5 separate regions of the Homo sapiens genome follow, and regions 2, 3, 4 and 5 are each linked to region 1. Evidence: promoter capture Hi-C in 16 types of primary human blood cells and fetal thymus (Javierre and others, 2016). All regions are on one chromosome and are shown on one strand. Each heading gives the region's core, a stretch centred on a gene start or on the middle of the fragment in contact. The rest is flanking DNA. Distances are from core to core; before and after follow the strand shown.

Evidence for each region. The method cuts DNA at HindIII sites, captures the fragments that hold promoters and counts their contacts. A CHiCAGO score of 5 or more calls a contact.
Region 2: a contact is called between a fragment that was not itself captured here and the fragment with the promoter of PREX1 in region 1, in 1 of 17 cell types (naive CD4 T cells). The highest score is 5.6, in naive CD4 T cells.
Region 3: a contact is called between a fragment that was not itself captured here and the fragment with the promoter of PREX1 in region 1, in 1 of 17 cell types (naive CD8 T cells). The highest score is 5.4, in naive CD8 T cells.
Region 4: a fragment that was not itself captured here is called in contact with the fragment with the promoter of PREX1 in region 1 in 1 of 17 cell types (M0 macrophages); the score reaches 5.4 in M0 macrophages.
Region 5: a fragment that was not itself captured here is called in contact with the fragment with the promoter of PREX1 in region 1 in 1 of 17 cell types (naive CD8 T cells); the score reaches 5.2 in naive CD8 T cells.

Annotation. Positions count from the first base shown.
Region 1 is chr20:48,826,077-48,830,838 of GRCh38, reverse strand. It overlaps PREX1 (phosphatidylinositol-3,4,5-trisphosphate dependent Rac exchange factor 1), which reads left to right and starts at 2,840. Exons shown (of 40, transcript NM_020820.4): 1 at 2,840-3,197. The coding sequence starts at 2,979. RefSeq lists silencers at 2,187-2,866, 3,277-3,346. The HindIII fragment of the contact is 7,694 bases long and covers 1-4,762 here.
Region 2 is chr20:47,699,888-47,704,359 of GRCh38, reverse strand. It overlaps SULF2 (sulfatase 2), which reads left to right. Exons shown (of 21, transcript NM_001387048.1): 4 at 1,690-1,841. Among named protein-coding and RNA genes, the nearest start is that of SULF2, 83 kb to the left of the region's middle. RefSeq lists an enhancer at 2,587-2,646. The HindIII fragment of the contact is 3,903 bases long and covers 198-4,100 here.
Region 3 is chr20:47,495,458-47,500,510 of GRCh38, reverse strand. No RefSeq gene overlaps it. Among named protein-coding and RNA genes, the nearest start is that of NCOA3, 3.9 kb to the left of the region's middle. The HindIII fragment of the contact is 9,001 bases long and covers 1-5,053 here.
Region 4 is chr20:47,772,314-47,777,003 of GRCh38, reverse strand. All of the region lies in intron 1 of SULF2 (sulfatase 2), which reads left to right. It overlaps LOC124904922 (a long non-coding RNA gene), which reads right to left and starts at 2,914. Exons shown (of 3, transcript XR_007067620.1): 1 at 2,834-2,914; 2 at 2,408-2,564; 3 at 1-2,259. The HindIII fragment of the contact is 878 bases long and covers 2,472-3,349 here.
Region 5 is chr20:47,675,231-47,680,398 of GRCh38, reverse strand. It overlaps SULF2 (sulfatase 2), which reads left to right. Exons shown (of 21, transcript NM_001387048.1): 8 at 1,595-1,723; 9 at 3,265-3,321; 10 at 3,776-3,905. Among named protein-coding and RNA genes, the nearest start is that of SULF2, 110 kb to the left of the region's middle. RefSeq lists enhancers at 1,112-1,612, 4,975-5,168. The HindIII fragment of the contact is 722 bases long and covers 2,661-3,382 here.

The DNA of each region.
Region 1 (4,762 bases), core at 1,591-4,090:
TGTATGCACTCAGGAACCTTGCAACGACTTTATGATGTAGGTACTGATATTATTCTTAGTTCACAGATGAGGAAAGCAAGGCACAGAGAGCTTAAGTATGTTACTAAACGCTGTATTATCTTTTAGTGTCATCATTACCACTGGGGATGGGGATGGAAGGGGAAAAAGATCCCAGCAGAATCTGAGGAAGTAACGATGTATAAAACATTGGGGTGGGCCAGAGATGGGACCCATCCACAACGTGGAAATGTTTTTTGGCAGTGTGGGCCAATTCTTGGGTGAAATGTGGGATTTGTGTGTAAACTTGAGGCTAACCTTCCTTGGTCATGGGCTGAGAAGGGAACTAACATTTGTTGAGCACCTACTCTGTGCCAGCTATGTGTGTCAGGTACTTTACATCAGTGGTTCTCAACAGGGGGCAATTCTGTCCCCAGGGATATCTGGCAATGTCTGGAGACACTTTTTCTGTTTATTTTTGAGGCAAGGCTTACTCTGTTGTCCAGGTTGGAGTGCAGTGGTGTGATCACAGCTTACTTGCAGCCCTGACCTCCTGGGCTCAAGCAAGCTCCCCACCTCAGCCCAGCAGCTGGTACTACAGGTGTGTGCCACCATGCCCAGCTAATTTTTAAAATTTTTTTGTAGAGACAGGGTCTTGCTATGTTGCCCAGGCTGGTCTTGAACTTCTGGGATCAAACAATCCTCCCACTTGGACCTCCTAAAATTCTGGGATTAGAGGCCGGAGCCACTGTGCCCAGCCTGGAGACATTTTTGATTCTCAGATTGGGGAGGGAGTGCTACTGGCATCTAGTGGGTAGGGGACGCGGCTAAATGTCCTGAAATGCACAGGACACGCCCCTCCCCCAACAAAGAGTTATGTGACTCCAAATGTCAATAGTCCCAAGGTTGAGAAAGTCTGTATTGCATAGAATTCGCTCTCACAAAGACTCCCCTTTTACAGATTAGACGACTGAGGCCCAGAGAAATAACGTGTCTTGGCCAAGGTTACCCTGCCAGTTGGATTTGGACTGGGATACAAATGCAAGCCCGCTTCATTCCATGGTCCATTATGTTCCAGCCATGTTCTCCCCTCGTGGTAGACAGAATTAATTTAAAGATGAGGAAACGGAGGCTCAGAAAGGTACCGTGAACAGTTTAAAGTCACAAAGCAGAGATACTCCAGAGGCCTTTATTAGGAATAAAAATATAAATAAAAAACCAGCTACCTTTGGACACAATTGACTCCACTACCCAAGCGTGACAGGCTCACCTATCTCATGTCCTTTACTCCCTGCCCAGGGGAACTTCACTCAGCCCAAGGCCCAGATCAAATGCTACCTTGCCCATGATCCCAAAGAAAGAAGTCAGAGAGGGCAGAAGCCACCCCATTCTCTCCCTGTGTCCTTAGGCACTTACAGTATTGAGAGGCCAATGGGAGGAAAATCCTAGGCTTTTGGAACAGGAATAAATAAGCAATGTTTCTGTCCATAAAATGACTACAGTCTAGAGGCGGATACTATGTGGATCACTTTATCCCCTGCAGAGACGATACAATCTCTGGTCCGGAAACACGGGTGATTAGGGATTGTATGGGCCATTTGAGAGTGGGGCCAGGCTTAGAGGGCCGTTCACACATGCAATAATAGTAAGAACAAACATTTACAGAGAACTTTCTAGGTGTTGGGCTTCACACATGCAATAATAGTAAGAACAAACATTTACAGAGAACTTTCTAGGTGCTAAGTACTTCCCATGGAACCCCGGGGAGGACCTTGGAGCTAGGTACCATGATCGTTCCCGTTATACTGATGAAAACACTGAGGATCTTGAAGCAAGGAAACCAGCCCAAGGCCACCCGGCCAGCAAGTGGGGAGCTAGGATTTGAACCTGAGCAGCTGACTCTAGGCCCCAGAACTTCCTCCCCTCTCCATACCTTCCGATAAGGCGGGTGATGATCAACATTGCCCAGAGCAACCTGACAAGAAGCTGGGTTTCCCAAGGCCTTATCCCATGGGGTGGGTGGATGGAAGGGGGAGCAGGCAGGGTACCTGCCACTTGATCAATAACTCAAGAGCAGGTAATAATTTCTTCTGGGAAAGGTGGAAAGGGCAGGGTCAGGGGGCAAAGAAGTTCAGAAAGAAAAGGAAGGAAGGAAAGAGAGAGATGGGAAAGGAAACGGGAAAGAGAAAAGTGAGAGCGAGCGCGCGCCACGCATGTTCCTTCCCAAGGTCGTGGTAGCACCGAGGGCACCGCGAGGGCCCGGCGTTCCCGGGAGGGGCCGTCACTGCCCAGAGAGGGGCCGTCACTGCCCAGGCAGCGGTCGCCCCTGACTTCCCGGGGCCGCGGAGGCGCGCGTGGCGGGGCTGGCTTGCCCCCGAGCGGCTCCGCAGCGAGCTTTCCCAGCCCGGTGTTTACTTGGCCCGAGCAGCGGCCGGACCTGCAAGCAGGAGCCTGCGCGCGGCGGGTGTCGCGTGTGCCGGGTGGGAGTGGCGTAGCCCGCGGTGACTGCGGGTTGGGGGGGCGCCACGCGTCCGGGCGCGGAGTTGGTACGCTCGGTTCGGCGTGCGCGCGGCCTCGGACTCCCGGCTCCGCGGGGCCCTTCCGGAGGCTCCCGCCCGACCCCCGAGCTTCCGACGGAGGCGCCGAGCGCCGCGCCGCGTCCCCAGGGGCCCCGTGCACGCGCAGAGCGCCTCTGCGGCCGAGCGCGGCGTGGCACTTGGCAGACGGTCCCTGGCGCGGGGGCGGGGGGCCAGCCGTCTGGGAGCCCCGAGGGCCGCCCCCTCCCGCCCCTCGCCCGGCCCCCGCGCGCTGCCTCCGCCCCCGGCCCAGCCGCCCGGCCCCCAGTCCCGCCCGCCGCGCCGGGAGCCCGGCCCGCCGCTGAGCCCGGCCCGCCGGCGCGCCCCGTCCGGGATGGGGCGCCTGGACGCCTGAGTTGCCGCTCGGCGCGACGGAAGGAGCCGGCGCCGCGCGGCCGCGCTAGAATGGAGGCGCCCAGCGGCAGCGAGCCCGGCGGCGACGGGGCCGGGGACTGCGCCCACCCGGACCCCCGGGCCCCTGGCGCCGCGGCGCCCAGCTCCGGCCCCGGCCCGTGCGCGGCCGCCCGGGAGTCCGAGCGCCAGCTGCGCCTCCGCCTCTGCGTCCTCAACGAGATCTTGGGCACCGAGAGGGACTACGTGGGCACCTTGCGCTTCTTGCAGTCGGTGAGTGTCGCTCGGGAGCTTGGGGACAGCTTTCCCTCCAGCCGCTCGCCCCGCTGCGGTCCCCACAACCTGTGGCCGTGGTCCCCGTGGGTGGAGAATTGCCTCGGGGGCGCCCCGCAGGGCGCGCGGAAAGCGGGGGGGATCCGAGCTCCTCCAGAGCTGTCGCGTCGCCTCCCTCCCTGGCCGGCGCACGGTCCTGCTCCGACCGGGGCTCTCCCGCACTCCACTTCCCCGCGGCGCGCGCTGCCCTTTTGTCTTTTCTTCCCCGTCCCCGCCTTTCAAATAGTTTTAAAATTAGTTACATCCGCGATGCAGGGGCTTGGGGACCCCGGCGGCGCCGGGAGCTGGCGCTCCTGCGTCTTTTTCCCAGGAATAACTACGCGCCCGGTGCACCACTCATCTAGGACATACCGTAGGAGCCCCAGAGCCCAACGTCCCTGCGCGTTGATGGAGTAGGATAAAACCTGAAGCTCAGAGGAGGGGCGGGGATTGACAGAACCCCAGGGTAGAATCCCCCATGCACAGGTTTTTGCTGGAGTTCGGGGAGAGTGGGTTTCGAACTCAAAACTCGGCAGTCCAGGCTCCCTAACTGCATCCACCCCCACCAACTCCCCATCTCCAAGTGCAAAACCACGGCCTCAGACTTTGTAAAATAACAACCGACCACTTACTATGTGCCAGACACCTTACATGTGTCATTAATTAGCAGGTTTAACCTTCACAGGCGGTCTATGAAGTAGGGACGAGTATTTCCCCCATTTTTAATTAAAAAAATTTTTTTTTGAGACGGAGTCTCCCTCAGTCACCCAGGCTGGAGTACAGTGGCGCAATCTCGGTTCACTGCAACCTCCGCCTCCCGGGTTCAAGCAATTCTCTTGCCTCAGCCTCCCGAGTAGCTGGGATTACAGGCACGCGCCAGCCACCACGGCCGACTAATTTTTGTATTTTTATCAGAGAGGGGATTTCACCATGTTGGCCATGCTGGTCTTGGACTCCTGGCCTCAAGTGATCCGCCGACCTCGGCCTCCAAAGTGCAGGGATTACAGGCGTGAGCTACTGGGTCCTGCCTCCTCCGTTTTTAAGATTGGGAAAGTTTAGCTCCAGAGGGGCCGGGTAGCTTGTCTGGGATCGCACAGCTGATTAAGTGGGGGTACTGGGCTTTGAACCGGGACTATCCCAGCTGGTGTTCTAAACCCCTATTCTATGCTGCATTTTTCTTTTGCTTTTTTTCTGTGAGAGGGAGGAAGGGGCCACTTCCCTACTCTCCTAGGAAGTGAGAAAAGTGGCCAGCGGGTGGAGGGGGTGGGACGGGGCAGAGCCTTGGATGGAAGTTAGGAGACTCTAAAGTCTTTAATCTCCATGCCTCCTGCTGGGGCCTCATTTACTCCCCTTCTCTGCTCTAGGAAGTCTTTTAATCCTGGTTCAGGAAGGGCTGGTGTGGGGGTGGCTCTTTCAAAGACCCTAGAGCCAGGCTTTGTAGCTCCTAGTCTTTGGGAGAAAGAGGGAGACTCTGGGGTCCTCTGGGGCTCCTCATGGCTTAGGGGTGCAGCTGAGGCTGTGTGAGA
Region 2 (4,472 bases), core at 900-3,399, 1.1 Mb after region 1:
TTGAGGCTGCAGTGAGCCGTGATGGTGCCACTACACTCCAGCCTGGGTGGCAGAGTGTGACGTGTCTCAAAGAAAAAAAAAATGTACATGCAAAATAAAAACAGAAGAGGATCATGAAGAGGTCTTGTCTGTCTCCTTATCACAGAGCTTTTAGGCACATCCCCTTCCTGATGAATTAGGGTGATTTTCTTTAAGCTTTGTTGTTGATGTAAAGCGTGCATGTGGAAAAGTGCATGGCTCCCAAATCTCCAGGCCAATGAGGTGTCACCAACTGAACCACCTGCTCCAGCAAGAAATAGAACAAGATCATCACCCGAGAAACTCCCCTTGCTGCTCCCAGCCACCCTCCCCCAGTCTCCAGGATACCCACTGTTTTTATTCTAACATCATAGATTAGTTTGGCCTGTTCTCAAATTTCACATAGATGACGTCATATGGCATGTATTCTTTTGTATCTGGTTTATCTCTCTTAACATTCTTAGGTTGTTGAGATGCATCCCTGTTCTTGAATGTAGCACTAGGTCTTTCGTTCAAGTTTCAATGTAGCCTTCCGTTCTGTAAATATGCAACAATTTCTTTACCCATCCTTTTGTTGATAAACATTTCATTTGTTTCTACCTATTTACTATTACAAATGTGCTGTCATGTCTTGTACCTGAGTTTAGGTGAGTGTATGAATACTTTTCTGTTGGGTAAATACCCAAGATTTAAATTGTTGGGTAGAAGTTACCAATGCATTCAAATTTAGCAGACACAGCCAAAGAGTTCCCCACCGTGGTTGGACCGGTTGGGGCAGCCACTCAGTGTGTGAGGGCTCAAGTTGTCCCACATCCCCACCCATACTAGGTGTTGCCCATTTCTTTAATGTTAGCCATTCTGGTTGCTGTATAGCAGACAGAATCCAAGGGATCCACAAACTTCAATGGGAAAAAAAGTGACACTCTGGTTTTCACTAACCTACAGCTGAGACTTAGCATTTGCTTCCAATATGAGCATAAGCCATAAACCACAGTATGTTGGCAGAATCTGTAGCTTTGTCATCTGTAGAAATCACCAGTATTTAATATCCCATTGCAGTTTTTGCAGATACTGCAAAATATAATATTTTCACTCATAACTATTCTGAAATGATCGCTCTCTACAAGGTTTTAAAAGACACAGTAGGCCAGGTATGGTGGCTCACGCCTGTAATCCCAACACTTTGGTCAGGAGTTCAAGACCAGCCCGGCCAACATGGTGAAACCCTGTCTCTACTAAAAATACAAAAAATTAGCCAGGCATGGTGGCAGACGCCTGTAATCCCAGCTGAGGATTACTCGGGAGGCTGAGGCAGGAGAATTGCTTGAAACCTGGGAGGCAGAGGTTGCAATGAGCCAAGATCGTACCATTGCACTCCAGCCTGGGTAACAGAGCAAGACTCCATCTCAAAAATAAAAAATAAAAGACACACTGTATCGCAAATGTGTTTAGTATTTTGATAACCGTATTTCCAAACAATTGATTTTCTCTGTAATCCTATATCTTGTATTCAATGCACGTAATAACATTGGAGAAGGGATCCATTGCTCTGTGTGCCAGAGGGCTCCATGGCAGAGCAGGTGTGCATGCTCAGGCCTCGGACACACAATAGTTTAATAAACATCGTCAGGCACTTTCTCACGTGGCCTCCTGATCCATCTCCCTCCGCAGCTTTCTTCGGGAAGTATCTTAATGAATACAACGGCTCCTACGTGCCACCCGGCTGGAAGGAGTGGGTCGGACTCCTTAAAAACTCCCGCTTTTATAACTACACGCTGTGTCGGAACGGGGTGAAAGAGAAGCACGGCTCCGACTACTCCAAGGTAAGCTGCAACCTTTCCAGCCTGGGAGTGGCTGTGTGGCCCAGCAGTTAGAGGCCCAACTCAGGAGCCAGACTACTTGGGTTCAGATTGTGACTCAGGCACTTAAAAGTGTGACCTTGAGCATTTTACATACACCTCCTCCTCAGTTTTTCATCTCTCAGCCAGGGACAGTGGCTCACGCCTGTAATCCCAGCACTTTGGGAGGCTAAGGCAGGTGAATCACTTGAGTCCAGGAGTTCAAGACCAGCCTGGGCAACATGACGAGACCCTGTCTGTACGAAAAAAATACAAAACTTAGCCGGGTGTGGTGGCACATGCCTGTGGACCCAGCTACTAGAGAGGCTGAAATGGGAGGATTGCTTAAGCCCGGGAGTTTGAGGCTGCAGTGAGCCAGGATCTTCCCACTGCTCTTCGGCCTAGGTGACGGAGCAAGACTCTGTCTTTAAAAAAGAAAAGAAAAATGTATTCATTTCTCAAAAAATAGTGTCTGTTTCCAAGAGTTTGGTTTTTTAACATTTTGCCGAGACAGAATATTCTTACAGAAAGTACATACACAGAGTGTACCATTCAAAGGCTTGCCGCACACTGAACGGACATGTGTAATGAGCACCCGGGTAGGCCAAGAAGAGAATGTCACCACCGCCCGCAGCAGTCCCCTCACGGAATTCCCCCGACTCGACACCCCTCCCGCGAGGATAACGATGATTCAGACTCTTAGCGTTACAGATTCACTCTGCATCTGGCTTCTCCTGCTTAGTATTATGTTGAGTTCATTCTTGCTGCCCAGCATTCCATCATGCGCTTATACCACAATTTGTTTATTTCTTCTACTTTTATTGGGCATTTAGGTATTTCCAGTTTGGGGTTATTACAAATAGCGCTGCTGAGCACTGTCTAGAACCTAGCTCCTGGTGAGCATAGAGGCTCATTTCTGTTATACCCGTTCCTCACAGCAGCGTTGCTGAGCACAGGGCGTGTGCATGTTCGGAGTGAGTGGGTGCTGCCTGAGCACCTGCAGCAGTGGTTGATCCTCAGTCGTAGTTTTTTCTGTTTTTAACATAAGATGAATTGACATGAGGTAACATGCACAGATCTTAAGTGGACCGCTGGATGAATTTTCACATACGTGTGCATCTGTTTCACCGCGCATCTCTTCCACATATGCGTGCATCCATTTCACCGCGGCTCCGATCAAGACATAGAGCACTTCCAGAAGACTCCCTGAGACCCCTCTCCAGTCATGACCCCCCACCCTGGGGATGACGTCTACTCTGACTTCTGACAGCGTGGATTATTTTTGCCTATTCTAGAACTTCACCTAAATGGAATCGTATAGTCTGTTCTCTTCTGCATCTGCCTTTTTTCACCCAGCGCAATGTCTGTGAGATCTGTATTATTTATTCATTCAACAACTCATGGACATTTTGGTTGTCTCCAGTTTGGGTCTATTATAAACTAAGCTGCCGTGAACATCTTTGTCCATGGCTTTTAGTGGACATATGCACCCATTTCTTTTGGTTATACACCCAAAGAAGGATTGCTGGGACATAGGATGTGTTAAGATGTTGCGCCCGGCCAGGCGCAGTGGCTCACACCTGTAATCCCAGTACTTTGGGAGACTGAGGCGGGTGGATCACTTTAGGTCAGGAGTTCGAGGCCAGCCTGGCCAACATGGTGAAACCCCGTCTCCACTAAGAATACAAAAATTAGCCCTGCGTGGTGGCGGGCGCCTGTAATCCCAGTTACTCGGGAGGCTGAGGCAGGAGAATGGTGTGAACCCGGGAGGCAGAGGTTGCAGTGAGCCGAGATCACATCACTGCTCTCCAGCCTGGGAGACAGAGCGAGACTCCATCTCAAAAAAGAAAAAAAAAAAAAAAAAAAGATGTTGCACCAGTTTACACTCCAGCCGGAAATGGGAGTTGCCCTGCATCCCTTATCAGCACTTGGTGTTGTCTTTTTTGTCAGGGCTGCTTTGTTGGGCATGTAGCGGTGTTTCATTATGGTTTTACCACAAAGGTTTTTGAGGATCACGTGAGTTAGTACATGTAGAACATTAGAAGCGCCCCTTGCACGTAGTAAATACTCAGTATGTAGTAGCTTAGATCAGGGCAACAAATATTTTCTGTAAAGGGCCAGATACTAAATATTTTAGGCTTTACAAGGCTTACAGTCCTGTTACCACTGCAGAAGTCTGCCGTTATAGTGTGAAAGCAGCCATAGATAATATACAAACAAGCATGGCCATGCTCTAAGGAAGCTTTGTTTACAAAAACAGGCAGTCGACCTGCTTGGCTGTAGTTTGCTGACCCCTGGCTTAGATGATGAGGAGGAGAAGGAGGAGAGGCTGACAGTGATGTTTCATCCAGATGTCCCATTTTAAAAGAAATATGGAAATGAACAAATCTTCCTGCCCCATCTGAATCCTCAGAGTCAGCTCTGACATCCCCCCACAGCTGGTACATTCTTTCCCCAGACCAGCTGCCAAATCCATCCCTCTTTCTCTTTTCCCATCCCCACTGCCACCAGTCCTGGGCCCTGCCTACTGTGACTTCCCAGGTTAAAGTCACTAGAGAACAGGCAGTCACTGAAAGAGGGTAGCAAGCCAGGAGTGTGTGGACAATAGGGAGTGGT
Region 3 (5,053 bases), core at 2,545-5,044, 1.3 Mb after region 1:
CCCACTCTGATCCCAGCTTTCCCTACTCCTATTCCTTTCTTCATTTATTTTCAGAGCATGAATTATCATTAAAATCATGATATATTTCTGTTTACTTATGTTATTTAAAATATCTCATTTTGGCTGGGCGCGGTGACTCACGAATGTAATCCCAGCACTTTGGGAGGCCAAGGCAGGCAGATCACCTGAGGTCGGGAGTTCAAGACCAGCCTGACCAATATGGAGAAACCCCGTCACTACTAAAAATACATAATTAGCTGGGCATGGTAGCACATGCCTGTAATCCGAGCTACTCAGGAGGCTGAGGCAGGAGAATCACTTGAACCTGGGGGCAGAGGTTGCGGTGAGCCGAGATGGCACCATTGCACTCCAACCTGGGCAACAAGAGTGAAACTCCGTCTCAAAAAAAAAAAAAGTAAAAATTAAAAAATTAAATATCTCATTTCTGGGCCGGGCACGGTGGCTCACACCTGTAATCCCAACACTTTGGGAGGCCAAGGTGGGCAGATCACCTGAGGTCAGAAGTTCCAGACCAGCCTGCCCAACATGGCGAAACCCCGTCTCTACTAAAAATACAAAAGATTAGCTGGGCATGGTGGCAGGCGCCTATAATCCTGGCTACTCGGGAGGCTGAGGCAGGAGAATCACTTGAACCCGGGAGGCAGAGGTTGCAGTGAGCCGAGATCGCGCCACTGCACTCCAGCCTGGGCCACAAGAGCGAAACTCTGTCTCAAAAAAATATATATATATATATTTCCACCAGGGCACAGTGGCTCAGGCCTGTAATCCCAACACTTTGGAAGGCCGAGAGATTGCTTGAGCCCAGGAGTTCAAGACCAGCCTTGGCAACAAAGCAGATACCCAGTCTCTACAAAAAATTTTAAAATTAGCTTGGTGTGGTGGCGCCTGCTTGTATTCCCAAGTACTCAGGAGGCTGAGGTGGGAGGATTGCCTGAGTAGGGGAGGTCAAGGCTGCAGTGAGCCATGCTTGCACCACTGCACTCCAGCCTGGGCGACAGAGTGAGACTCCATTTCAAATATATATATATATAAAATAAAAATAATAAAATAAAATACTGCGTTAGATGCTGAGAACCCAGAGATGAAATGCTCACACGTGTATGGCCTTTCACCTCAGCAACTGCACCTGTCTCCTAGCTACTCTCCTTGCTTCTCTCCCTTTCATCCTCTACAGGGCACTCCCAATACAGTAGCCAGAGGGATCCTTGAAAAATCATGTATTAAATCATGTTACTTCCAACCTAGGCCGGGTACGGTGGCTCACGCCTGTAATTCCAGCACTTTGGGAGGGCAAAGCAGGCAGATCACTTGAGGTCAGGGTTTTGAGGCCAGCCTGACCAATATAGTGAAACCCTGTCTCTACTAAAAATACAAAATTAGCTGGGCATGGTGGCACACACCTGTAGTCCTAGCAACTTGGGAGGCTGAAGCAGGAGAATCTCTTGAACCCAGGAGGCAGAGGTTGCAGTAAGCCAAGATCATGCCACTGCACTCCAGCCAGGGCAACAAGAGCGTAACTCCATCTCAAAAACAAAACAAAACAAAACAAAACAAAAAACTTCCAACCTAAACAGCTTCGAATGGCATCCCATTGCATTTGGGATAAAACTCAGACCCTAGTTGGGTGTGGTGGCCCACGCTTCTAGTCCTAGCTACTCAGAAAGCTGAGGTGAGAGGATTGCTTGAGCCCGGAAGTTCGAGGCTGCAGTGAGCCGTAATTGTGCCAGTGCACTCCAACCTGGGTGACAGAGGGAGACCCTGACTCCATTTAAGAAAACAAACTACTCTGACCCTAATTGATTTGGTCTCTGCTCCCCTCCCTGATCTCAGGTGATATATCTCTCCCTATATCTCACCCCATGTCACACTAACATTCCTGAACACACCAAGCATATTCCTGCCTCAGGACCTGTGCACCTGTTGTTCCTTTTGCCTAGAATTTTCTTTCCTCCTGGCTTGCTCTCTATTGCCATTCAAGTCTCTGCTGCAATGTCTCCTTCTCGGATAGAACTTCTAAAGCACTAAACACACACACAGGCACAAACACAGTCATATCACCCTGCTTTGTCTTCACAATGATTCATACCATACACCATCTGAATTTTTTTAGAAATTTTTTTTTTTTAGATGGAGTTTCACTCTTGTTGCCCAGACTGGAGTGCAATGGCGTGATCTCGGCTCACCACAACCTCCGACTCCCGGGTTCAAGTGATTCTCCTGCCTCAGCCTCCTGAGTAGCTGGGATTACAGGCACATGCCACCATGCCCAGCTAATTTTTTGCATTTTTAGTAGGGACGGGGTTTCTCCATGTTGAAATGCAGTGGCACAATCATGGCTCACTGTAACCTCAAACTTCTGGCTCAGCTGAATTTTTTTGAGACAGAGCCTTGCTCTGTTGCCCCGGCTGGGGTGTAGTGGTGTGATCTCAGCTCACTGCAATCTCCGCCTCCTGAGTTCAAGGGCTTCCTCTGCCTCAGCCTCCCGAGTAGCTGGGATTACAGGCACGTGCCACCACACTTGGCTAATTTTTGTATTTTTAGTAGAGATGGGGTGTTACCATGTTGGCCAAGCTGGTCTTGTATTCCTGACCTCAAGTAATCCAACCTCCTTGGCCTCTCAACATGCTGGGATTTACAGGCGTGTGCCACTGCGCCTGGCAAACATTGGCAGAGTTTGATGGAACCTGTAGGTGATCTTGTAGTGAGTGACATGTGGAAACACTGCTCTAGACTCAAAATCTAAGCCAAATGAGTGACACACTCTACAAGATAGTCTGTGTAGGTGCCCACTATCATTCTTTCCTGCTGTTTGCACAGGCCACTCCTACATCGAAAGGTAGGCTTTATTTCCTCTTCCTTGAACTGGAGTTGACTCTGTAACTGTTTGACCAATGGAAATAGTGGAAGTGATGTCATGGGACTTTCAAGTCTAGGCTTTAAGATGATTGGGGTGGCTCATGCCTGTAATCCCAGCACTTTGGGAGGCTGAGGCAGGTGGATCACCTGAGGTCAGGAGTTCGAGACCAGCCTGGCCAACATGGTGAAACCGCGTCTCTACTAAAAGTACAAAAATTAGCCAGGCGCCGTGGCACATGCCTGTAAACCCAGCTACTCTGGAGGCTGAGGAAGGAGAATCGCTTGAACCTGGGAGGCGGAGGTTGCAGTGAGCCAAGATTGTGCCACTGCACTCCAGCCCAGGCGACAGAGTGAGATTCTGTCTCAATAAAATAAAATAAAATAAAATAAAATAAAATAAAGATGATTGGCAGCTTACACTTTCTTCCTCATGGAACCCAGCTGCCAGATTATGGGAAGCCTAAGCCACATGGAGAGGCTACATGAAGTAAAAACTGAAGCACTCCACTTGGCAGCCCCAGCTGAGATTCCAGGCAAGAGCCTGCAGTAACTGTCAGCCATGCAAATGAGCCTTCTCATACATTTCAGTCCTTAGAGGCCCCAGGTGACTATAGTGTTGACCAGAACATTGTGAAAAAAAAGTTATAAAAAAGGAAAATAGGTAGTTTTTAAAAATAAAAATAAATGGCCAGGCGCAGTGGCTCATGCCTGTAATCCCAGCACTTTGGGAGGCCAAGGCAGGTGGATCATTTGAGGTCAGGAGTTCGCGACCAGCCTGACCAACATGGTGAAACCCTGTCTCTACTAAAAATACAAAATTAGCTGGGTATGGTAGCACACACCTGTAATCCCAGCTACTCGGGAGGCTGAGGCAGGAGAATCGCTTGAACCCAGGAGGCAGAGCTTGCAGTGAGCCAAGATCGCGCCATTGCATTCCAGCCTGGGCAACAGAGCGAGACTCAGTCTCAAAAAAAAAAAAAAAAGAAAAAAAACTAAATCATAATTAAATAATTTTTTAAAAAAAAGAACTGGAACAGAAGAACCATCCCACCAAACCTAATCAACCAAGAGAATCATGGGAGATAATAAAGATGTTGTTCTTTCAGCCACTAATCTTTACAGTGATTTACTATGCAGCAATGGATTATTGAAATACTATGTAAGTGTGAAGTTTTGTTGAACTGTGGCTGAGAACTTTTAATAGGTAGGAAGAATAATTTCAAATTCTGAAATTATTCCTCAATAAAATTGGCTTGACCTAGGGGACCCAAAGGCACAAATTCTCTGAGGATACGATTAGAAGGTCAACTAGAACAAGCCCTCCAAAAATGAAGAGATCCTGCCTACAAATATTTCTGAGTGCATGAAGCCTCTACTTACATGCTGCCCTGTGAACTTCCTCAAGGGCAGCTGTGCCAGTTAGGATTCTTGGGTTGCAAGCAACAGCAATAGACTTTGAAATGTAGCAAAATGATATCCAGGAACTCAAAGAATCAATGGGAAGTCTGGAGGGCCAGGTCGGAAATGTCAGAAACAAAGGGAAGAAAAGAAGAAAAGTAAAAGTGAATAAATAAAAAAAGAAAAAAAGATTTAAATAAAGAAAAAGAAAGCAAGGGAAGAGAAGATACTTGAAGATACTTGAACATCTTTTTCTTTTTCCTTTTTTTTTTTTTTTGGAGATGGAGTTTTGTTCTTGTGGTCCAGGCTGGAGTGCAATTGCACAATCATGGCTCACAGCAACCTCCGCCTCCCAGGTTCAAGCAATTCTCCTGCCTCACCTCCCAAGTAGCTGGGATTACAGGCATGTGCCACCACACCTGGCTAATTTTTGTTAATAGAGACAGGATTTTACCACTTTGGCCAGGCTGGTCTTGAACTCCTGACCTCAGGTGATCCACCTGCCTTGGCCTCCCAAAGTGCTGGGATTACAGGTGTAAGCCACTGCGCCTGGCCATACTTGAACATCTTATCTGAGACCAGCAGTAGATCTAGAAAAGACCACTCATTTTATCCTGTCCTCTCATTACCCTATTCCAAGATTCAAATTCCGAAGAGTAATCTGTTCAATTGATCTAGCTTGGGTCACATGTTTTATATGAAAGGAACTCCAGACCGGTAACAATGGTAACTAGCCTGCTTGCAACTTGCTCTCAAATGATTTAGGGAGAAAAAATGC
Region 4 (4,690 bases), core at 1,661-4,160, 1.1 Mb after region 1:
TTTGGATACTCAGTAAATTTTTTTTTGAATGAAGGAAGCAAGAAAAGAAAGAGGCTTGGAGAGCTACAGGCACATCTGGCTAGCATGTTTGCTCGAAGGTGACTGCTCAGGGCAAGGATGTCAAAACCTGTTAGTCATTTGCAAAAAGCTAAGCAGGTGGCTGGGAGGATTGGTTTCATACACACTCACTTGCTCCCCAGTGCCAGAGCTGGGGTTTTGTGCTAGCATTGCTTGCAGAGGAAGGATCGTCCCCTTTATGCCACGGCAGGGACCTCACGGCCTTGCAGAAGGGCTGGTGGAACCCTCCACTTCTGATGACTCTGGGGCCAAGCTAGTCTTCCAGGTCAGTGGTGTGACATTCTAATGAGGGCTCTTGGGTTAAATATTTCTGCATGTGCCCTTGAAAAGACAACTCCCTTCCCTAAATTGTCCCTTCCTGAAAGAACAGCGGTCACAGCCCAGGAGAGCAGCCTCTTTAACCTCCACTCCCCAACCTACCCTCCTGAAAGCTCACATTTACCGAGCACTTTGTACAGGCTAGTGGTGGTTTAAGTGCGCGCTCCTGTGAATGTGGAATAACTCAGCGATGTGGGGATCTTCCAACCCCGTTTTACAAAGGAGGAAAGAGACACAACGAAGTCTCTCCTTGCTCTGCCATGCTGGTAGAATAGGACATCACAGGCCACCTAACCAGGGGCTCTGTTCAGCTCGCAGAAATGTTTTGTTTGAACCTTCTAAAAAGCTGTCAGATTTGTAACAACTACGAGATTTCACATTTTAAAAATCTGGATTTTCAGCTTCTCCTGAAAAATGGGGAGATGTGGTCCCCACCATCCCCTATAGCCTGACATTGTGAACCAATTCATTTGGCTTTTCATTGCACTTTCCCTTCTGTTTTTCTCATTGTGGAGCAATATTTCTCTGTTCCATCTCTACCAAAAGTGGCCAGATGAGAGCTGGAGAGGAAGTGGGGTGTGGAGTTTTCTTATGCGTCCACTTCACCCGTTTACATTATCTGCCTGGCCCACGTAGGCATTTGAGTTTGTCTCCCGTTGTGACACTTTGTACCCAATGGCTACACTTCCAGGGACATTGCAAGTGTCCCTGGACACTTACATTGTGCATTGCAAGTGTGTAGTAATAATAATGTCTAATATCTATTGATTACTTTTTGCCCAGCATTTCATCATCACAGCAAGCCTTTGAAGCAGGGACTAATATCATCTTCACTTTATCAGTAAGGAAACTGAGGCACTGTGTGTGATGCCCTCACTAGAACAGGAGGTCCTGAAGCTTGTTCATCTTTGTACCATCTGTGCTAGGCTTACTGGCTGTTTGAATGAATGACTAAAGGAATGAATGAATGATGTTCTCCTCCAAGTGTTCATTAGCCGAAGAGGCTGAAAGTCTTAACCTCATAGTCATTTGTGACATTTCTGTTGGGGGAATGGGCTCTGATCAGTGTCACTGAGGATTCTTGGGTTGTGTTTCTGCTGTATAACAAACCACTCCAAACTCAGTGGTTTAAGGTAACAACATTTTATTTTGGACGATTCTGTGGTTTGACCAGGTGGTTCTTCAGCTTCATGTGATATCAGCTGGCAGGTCTAAAACAACCCCATTCAAATGGCTGGCAGCTCTTGCTGGTCACCAGATGGGAGCTCAGTTATTCTCCATGTGGGCTCTGCCCTATGGCTACTTGGGCTTCCTCGCAGTATGGCAGGTTCAGGGTAGCCTGACTTCTAAGAGTGCAAAAATGAAAGCTGCCACGGTCTCTTAAGGCTTAACCGCAAAACCGGCACAGCATCACTTCTGCCACCTTCTCTTGGTCAAAACAGGTCCCAAAGCCAGCCCGGTTTCATGAGGTGGGGCCCACACAAGGGTTTGAATACCAGGCAGTGTGGCTTTTTGGAGTCCACCAAAGTACCCATTCATCACAGACTGCAAGTAGCAGAGCCCAACACTTACTACCTCAAGCTGGAACAGGATTTACTGGGGGGCTCAGGAAAGGACAGGTCAGGAACTGAGGAAATTCTGGGGACCTTGGCGCAGGAGTTACTAGCAGCCTCCTGAAGGAGAGTTTCCATCCCAATGCGACAAATGCACCCCTGCTTTTTCTTTCTGCCCTTGACACTTTATTTGACAGTTGGGGACATGGTAAGAAAGTCTGATTGACCTTGGTCACATGATCACCCCTTGGCAGAGAGGATGGGGGCATCTTGGCAGAGGGGAGGGAGTCCTCAAAAGGAAGCTGGGGTGCTGTCAAAAGAAGGGGACCAGATGGACAAAAATTGTTAGAAATCTCTGCACCGCCCCTGCATAGGTGACTCCACCCCTGGCAGAGCAATGAACATTTTAAAACGAGTGAATGGACTTTGAAAGTCCAGTATAAGTAGAATGCCCAAACCTGTGTGGCAGCTTCTCCAGCTCCAGGGCCCCATAGCTCAGGTGCTGCTGGGGGTCTGGAAGCTTCTCTCCACTTTACGGGGCAAAGTCAACTCCTAGAACCCCTGCCATGCCTCAATATCCCCCTCCAGAAGATAGGGGCAGTTTGCTTCTGGCTCCTGAAAGGAGAGCATGCGCGGTAATGAGGGACCTGGGCTCAATGCCTGCACTCCCTCCTCCCAGACCCCGCCTCACCAGTGACACTGCCTTCCACCCCAACACCTGGTGACACCCAGTGAGTCCCCGCAGCAGGGGAGGCTGCTAGTAGGAAAAACTGATCCAGACTAATCTCAGCTCGCAGAGCCTCTGACCCGGGCTTTCCTCCCACTTGCCGGTCTATTTCCGGCTGCTAATTAGATTGCACAGCAAGCCACATTGGGAAGCCGACCTGTCGTTCCAAAGGCACTCCACTCGCATCTCCAAATGTAGCAGGTGATTTGGTAAAAGTTGATTCTGACTCCTTCCCCCAGCTTCTAAAATAATTGTAAGTGTCGGGCTGTTTCCAAGGTGAACTAATGAACAGCTCATCTGCTAATAGCAGGGGCAAGCTGGCTGAGGACGGCACGCTCGCCTGTGGATTGGGTGAAAAGGAAAGAAGTAATTGGATTATTAATACCAAGCCGTCAAAATACCTTTTATTCCTTTTATATTCTTCTGGAAGGAAACGACAATCTCTGGAAACATAAATACATGTTCTGTGGGGGTAAGCAGGGCTAAGAAAATGTGGGGCTGAAAAGGAGGAGGGGGTTAAAAAGGTGGAATTGTCAGTCCCCACTGTGGCAGTCTACACTGAGAACCAGCCCACAGTTAGGCGTGAATAATGACTCTGTTCAAGTCGGACTTTATTGCTTTTGGCCAAAGGCCTTTTGCAGAAATAACTTTGTAACTCCCTGCCAGGGAAGCTTTTGTCCACAGCTGAGACAAAGGAACAAAGAACAGAGGTGGGAATTTCTGTATCTGATTTCTACTTCCTCTAAACAGCCAGAAAGGACAGCGGGTGTGGCCTGCCCAGAAGGCATGGGCTGGGGCAAAGGGGTGTCCAGCCTCCTGTGGGCCACACTGCCGTGCTCGGCTGCACCATGTTGGTTTCATTGTGCACATTCCCACCCCAGGGCCTTTGCACTTACTTCCTCCGTTCATAGAAAGCATTTTGCCCACAACTGGCTTCTCGCCCGCCTCTGCTCTCAGCTCAGATGCCATTTCCTTATGCCACCTCCTCATGCCAGAGAGGCCTTTCCCAATTTACTGTCCATCCTATCACCTGACAGCTTCCTCCAAAGCTCTTAAGACAATCTTCATTCATTCATTTTCTCCTCCACCAAGGTATCACAGCTCCATGAGGACAGAGGCCTGGCCTGCCTTGTGGCCACTGCTGTTTCTTAGCATGTGGCACATAGTAGGTGCTCAGGAAAGATTGGATAGCTTGGAAGAGTCGCACATAGCTCCCAGGCCAAGCTCCAGCGGGGCTTTATGGAGCCCGCTCAGTGCTTAAAATAGGTTGAAAGTTTTTACTTTGGAAATGGTGTTTCCGGTGTAGTCCAGGCGCCACCCCATCTCTATCCTAAATCTAGGCCACTTTACTCACTCAGGTCTCCTGCCCGACCCTTGGATGCATTTGCATATTTGTCCCTGCTTTAGACAAAGGCCACTGCAAACATATCTCTCTCCAAAGGTCACCAGACAACATCCAGACTTCTTGCATTGCCAAGTCTTGTGCCAGACCGGTGGCCTCCACCAACCAGGTCCCATTGACTGGATCAAGGTGTAGTCTTCATCTTAGCCGTCCACGCACAGGGCGTAAGTGGCGTTGATCTCATCATAAGCAGGTCATGGCAGGAGGAGGGTCGGGCAGGAGACCTGAGTGAGTGAAGTGGCCTAGATTCAGGATAAGAGACGGGGTAGGGCCTGGACTACATTGGAAATGCCATTTCCAACGTAAAAACCTTTAACTTTTCCTTTTTCCCCTTTTCCTTTTCTGCTCTCCTCCAAGCCTCTGGGTCATCAAGGAGGGAATCGCGTGAACTCCTCCTTTATGGTCTTCAAGGAGACCTACTCCCAATGTAAGGGGAAGCGCAGAGGCCTTGGCAAGCAAGAATGTAACCACAATGTCATTGCCTTTATACTGTTGCCATCTAAGTATGGCAGGGGTTCTCACCTAGGGGCAGTTTTGCCCCCTAGGGGGACATTTGGCAGTGTCTGGAGATATTTTTGATTGTCACAACTGGGGTAGGTGCTACTTGCATCT
Region 5 (5,168 bases), core at 1,772-4,271, 1.2 Mb after region 1:
AGGAGAGGTGGCTCATGCCTGTAATCCCAGCACTTTGGGAGGCTGAGGCGGATGTATCACCTGAGGTCAGGAGTTCAAGAGTAGCCTGGCCAACATGGTGAAACCCCACCTCTACTAAAAGTACAAAAATTATGGGTGTGATGGCGCATGCCTGTAATCCCAGCTACTCGGGAGGCTGAGGCATGAGAATCGCTTGAACCCAGGAGGTGGAGGTTGCAGTGAGCCAGGATCATGCCACCACACTGCATCCTGGGTGACAGAGCAAGACACCTCTCAAAAAAAGAAACAGGAGCCAGGAAAGGTGGCAGATGTATGGGAATTCACTTAGCCAATATTTACTGAGTAGCTCCTCTGTGTTCTAAGGGTATAAGTCCTGGAGATACAGAAGTGACCACCTGAGCCAGCCTTCCTGCAGCTTAGAGTCTAACTGGGCAATAGACAATAAGCCAGAGAAATAAGTAAATTATATAGCATATGAGATGGTGATAAGTCTTCAGGAGAAAGATAAAGCAGGGAGGGTGGGGAGGGGGCGCAGTTCCGAATAGGGTCCTCAGGAGGGGCCTTGTGTTGGGTATCTGTGCTGCAGAACAAACTGCCACAAACTCAGCAGCTTAAGACAACACACATGTACAAACTCACAGTGTCTGAGGGTCAGAAGCCTGGGCCTAGCCCTGCAGGGTCGTCTGCTTAGGCTGAAATCAAGGTGCCGGCCAGGGCTGTGGTCTCATCCAGAGGCTTGACTGGGGAGCATCTGCGTCCCTGCTCATGGGGCAGGTCAAGTGCAAGCAGAGGACTTGAACCCATGCAGTCTGCCTCCCAGACTGCTCACAGTCTAGCTGCTGATTTAGAGTGGCTTGCTTCTTCAAAGCCAGCAAGGGGAGAAAGAAACCAGAGCCAGACTGCTAGCAGGATAGTAGTTGACTATCTCATAACACAACCACGGGAGTGACAGCCCATCACCTTCACAACCCACTGGTTGGCAGCAGGTGCAGGTTGGTCCACACCCAAGGTGAGGGGGTCACATTAAGGTGTGATCACCAGGGACAGGGATTCTGGGGACCACTGAGGCCTGTCACGGGCCTCCTTGGTCATAGAGCAAAGAACTAAAGGGGTGAGGGACGGTGGCCCCTGATCTCCAGGGAAAGGACATTCCAGGCAGAGAGGATGGTAAAGAAGAAGGCCCTGAGGCTGCACTGTGCCTGGGCTGTCAAGGAACAGCGAGGAGCCAGTGTCTGCCCCAGAGGTTCAGGGGAAGGGTTCAGGAAGGGCCAGGATTTGGGCTGGCTGTAAAGGGGGGGTCGCCTTCACTCAGGAAGTGGGGACAGGAAGGGCAGGAGGGGGACAGGGTGAGGCTGTCAGCTCACGGCATGAGCTGAGACACAGAAACTAAGGGGGGGCGAGCACAGAGTGGGGGTTCAGCTGAATCTGGGCCGCAGAGGGGAGCTGCTGAGGTTGAGGTGCCAGACTGCAGCTTCCATACCTGCAGATGTCAGCCTCCCACAAACTGCTGCCCACCTACCGCTCCCCACCCCCCACGCGAGGCTGAGGCACCACCACCTGAGTGACTGAGTCCCCGATCTCCTGCCTCCCCCAGGAATCCCCACATCGTCCTCAACATTGACCTGGCCCCCACCATCCTGGACATTGCAGGCCTGGACATACCTGCGGATATGGACGGGAAATCCATCCTCAAGCTGCTGGACACGGAGCGGCCGGTGAATCGGTGAGGACGGAGCAGGGCAGGTGTTGAGGGGGCCGGGACATTGACCTGCGGGAACTCAGAGCAAAACCCTGTGGGTCTAGAACGTGGGGTCTCCAAGGGTCGGGAGCTGGGGTTCTCAGGTCCCGCCATGCCAACCACTTACCTGCTGTGGGAGAGAAGCATGGTCCCCTCTCCGAGATTCTGTCTTCCCATCTGGAATGTGGCCAAGGTGACCAGTTGGGGACCTTCTCTGAGCTAAAATTACCCAAAGCTTGAAATGATAGCAGCAGTGATGGTAGGAGATGGTGCTAACTGCACGGCGCTTGTGTGTGAGGCCCTATTCTAAGTACTGTGCAGGGAAATCTAGGAATTTGATCCTCACAGTAACCCAGCGAGGTGGACATTATCATCATCCCCATTTTACCAGTTTGGAATCTGAATCCCAAAGCGATTGAGTGACGTGTCGGAGGTATCCCAGCAAGTCTGGATGTAGCTCTGGGAATTCAGATGCTGACTCACCACGCCCCATAACTTTAATGCTGGAGGGTGTGATGGGAACATATTCCTAGGTGTCCAGAGAGGCAGAATAGGAACCGTGAGGGTGAGCAAGTCAGACAGGTGGGAGGTGGGCTGAGTCAGGGCGGGGAGGCTGGTGTGGCCGCAGCGACATCTGGTGGCCAGCGCTCTTAACAGCCACCAGGTTCCTGGCCTCCAGGTGCTACTTCAACTCCTGGCTTGCACCTCTGGCAGCGGAGCCCTTCCCCTGTGGCCTCCCAGAGGCTCCAGCCAGGCGAGCACTGTGTGCCCACATCTGGCTGCCCTGTAGGGGGACCGTGTCCATTGAGGCTCCTCCCCTGACTGTGAGGCCAGGCAAGCTGTAATGGTATAAAATGGACATGTTTGGGGACACTGGCCTGGGAGCCAGGACACCTGGGGGTCAGGGGACAGGGTGGAAGCTTCCCCTCTCAGCTTCAGAGTCCCCATCTAGGAAATGGAAATGACCAGGTGGCACTGGATGAAACATACAAATTACATACATGCAACTGCAAAGCACCAAAGAAGAAAATACTCCCAAAACCCAATGCAATTAACCTGACATCAAGGCAACCACTGCGCCTGACACTGAGCTCAAGACAGAGCTCAAGACGCCAAACCACTGCGCCTGATGCTGAACCACTGCGCCTGACGCTGAACTCGAGATAGAGCTCGTCTAGTGCCGGGGGAGTTGCTGGGCTTCCTGGGAGGGGCTTGAGATGTGTGTGCGCGCACACACACACACACACACACACACACACAGTTACTTGGGTGGGACTTACAGTGATTTTGACCTGGGTCATTTCTACTGTGTGTGTCTCCAGACCCAAGTCTCTGGGGAAGGGGTGGCTCAACTCAGAGGAGGGTGGGCAATGCTCTAGTGCCCAGCTGGGCACACTCACCACAATTGCTGTCCAGGCTGACCGTAAACCAAGGCTGACTCCTGGTGCCGTCCCTGCTCCTGGGGGAACGGGGGGTCGTGGGAAGCCCTCATGTTGCTGAGAAGCAGGAGCCGTGCTTTTTTCCAGGTTTCACTTGAAAAAGAAGATGAGGGTCTGGCGGGACTCCTTCTTGGTGGAGAGAGGGTGAGTGCCGGGTCCTGGGAGGGACACCCCTGCCCACCTCCCTCCCTCTGCCCAGGAAGCTTCTGTAGCCCCACCGCATCATGCTATTCAGGAGCTGCCCATGGCTCTGAAGTTGGTCCAAAGGCCCCTAAACACAAAGCCCATTCACTGCTCCTATAGACACAGAATTGGGGTCTGAGGTCACGTGTACGCTTTTGGCATGCTTTGTCCAGCCTCTACAATGTCTTCAATTTATTTAATTTATTGCCAACTCATGCAATTTGGGAAGTTTCTTATAAAATTCCAATGTCTTAAGTTTCCTAAACATCAGAAGACCCGGGCAGGTGGCCCTGCGCCCTCCACTGTGAGGAAAAGCCGGAGCCGAGGGGGCACCCCTCTAGGTGGGCACACATGCCTCCGGGGCTCCTCCAGAGCTGAGAGGCCGGCCCCGCGGCTCCTGCTCTCTGCCCCATAGCAAGCTGCTACACAAGAGAGACAATGACAAGGTGGACGCCCAGGAGGAGAACTTTCTGCCCAAGTACCAGCGTGTGAAGGACCTGTGTCAGCGTGCTGAGTACCAGACGGCGTGTGAGCAGCTGGGACAGGTAAGAAGGCTCCCTTCCCTCCCAACGGCTCCCCCTCCTGACTGCAGCCGGCCCTGACCTGCGAGGCTCTGAGAGCCGCTGAGCCAGCAGGGCCAGGGCCTCCCAACGGGTAGTCCTTTGCTGCCGTGTGGTGCCCAAGATGCTGTTTGGTGGTGCAGGATGATGCTCACAATAAGTGATTCATTTCTCAGCAGCCTTTGGACCCTGACCGTGTCAGAGGCCAAGTGTCCCGTGGGTGTGTGTATGCCCTTAGCGCCTCTCTAGCCCTTGCCGATCTCTCTTGCACGAAGGCCCCAGCAGGAGTTAAATTATTTTATTTTCACCATATTCACTTTGACAGTATCCTCTTTGTGACTGGTTTTCCTTTTATAGGAGTAATAAGACATGGCTTTTTAAAATAAATATAGGTAAGGTTTTAAAAAGTGAATTGATTGCAAGAGAAATATTAAGGAAATTATGGCCAGGAACAGTCCGTGGCTCATGCCTGAGGTCCCAGCTACTCCAGAGCTGAGGCGGGAGGATGGCTTGAGCCCACGTGTTGGAGGCTGCAGTGAGCTATGATTGCGCCACTGCACTCCAGCTTGGGTGACAGAATAAGACCCTGTCTCTAAAAACATAAGAAAAAAGAAAATTATCTGGGAAGTATCAGAGATAGCCAGAAACTGACATGTTTGGGAAAGCCTGAAGGAGGCTTTTCTGAGGCTGGAAAGCCAGGGCAGGCTTGGAGAGGAGGGTCGGGGGCGGGGCAGGGCAGGGAGGGGAGTGGGATGGAAACTCTGCCTTGGCTGGCCCAAGGGGTGCCGGAGGTGTGTCCCTGCCCTGCCTGTCAAAGGCTGGGACTTTGAGCTGGGGCTGGAGCTGTGTGCCTGTTTCACCTATGAGAAAAAGCAAAACCAGGGCCCTGGTATTGAAGGCCAAGGCCTGAAGTGGATGCGTTTCTGATGGACTGCATTTGAATGACTCCATCTTAACACTGCACACAGAATTAGTACAGGCCCATACAGGCCTGACTGTGCCTCCCCACCCAGTGTGTGTTTGTAAACCCACAGACCCCTCTTAGTCACACAATTAACCCGTATCTGCCACCGGGCAGGAGCTGTGGATTTCATCCCTCCGTTGTACAGCATGAATGCGTCCCCCCGCTTGCCAGGCACTGTCCTAGGCGCAGGGCCACAGCCTCGAACATGCTCAACAGAAGCTCCTGCCCTCCCAGAGCTGATGTTCTGGAGAGAGTTCAGCCTTGACTTTGTACCGAGATCCCAG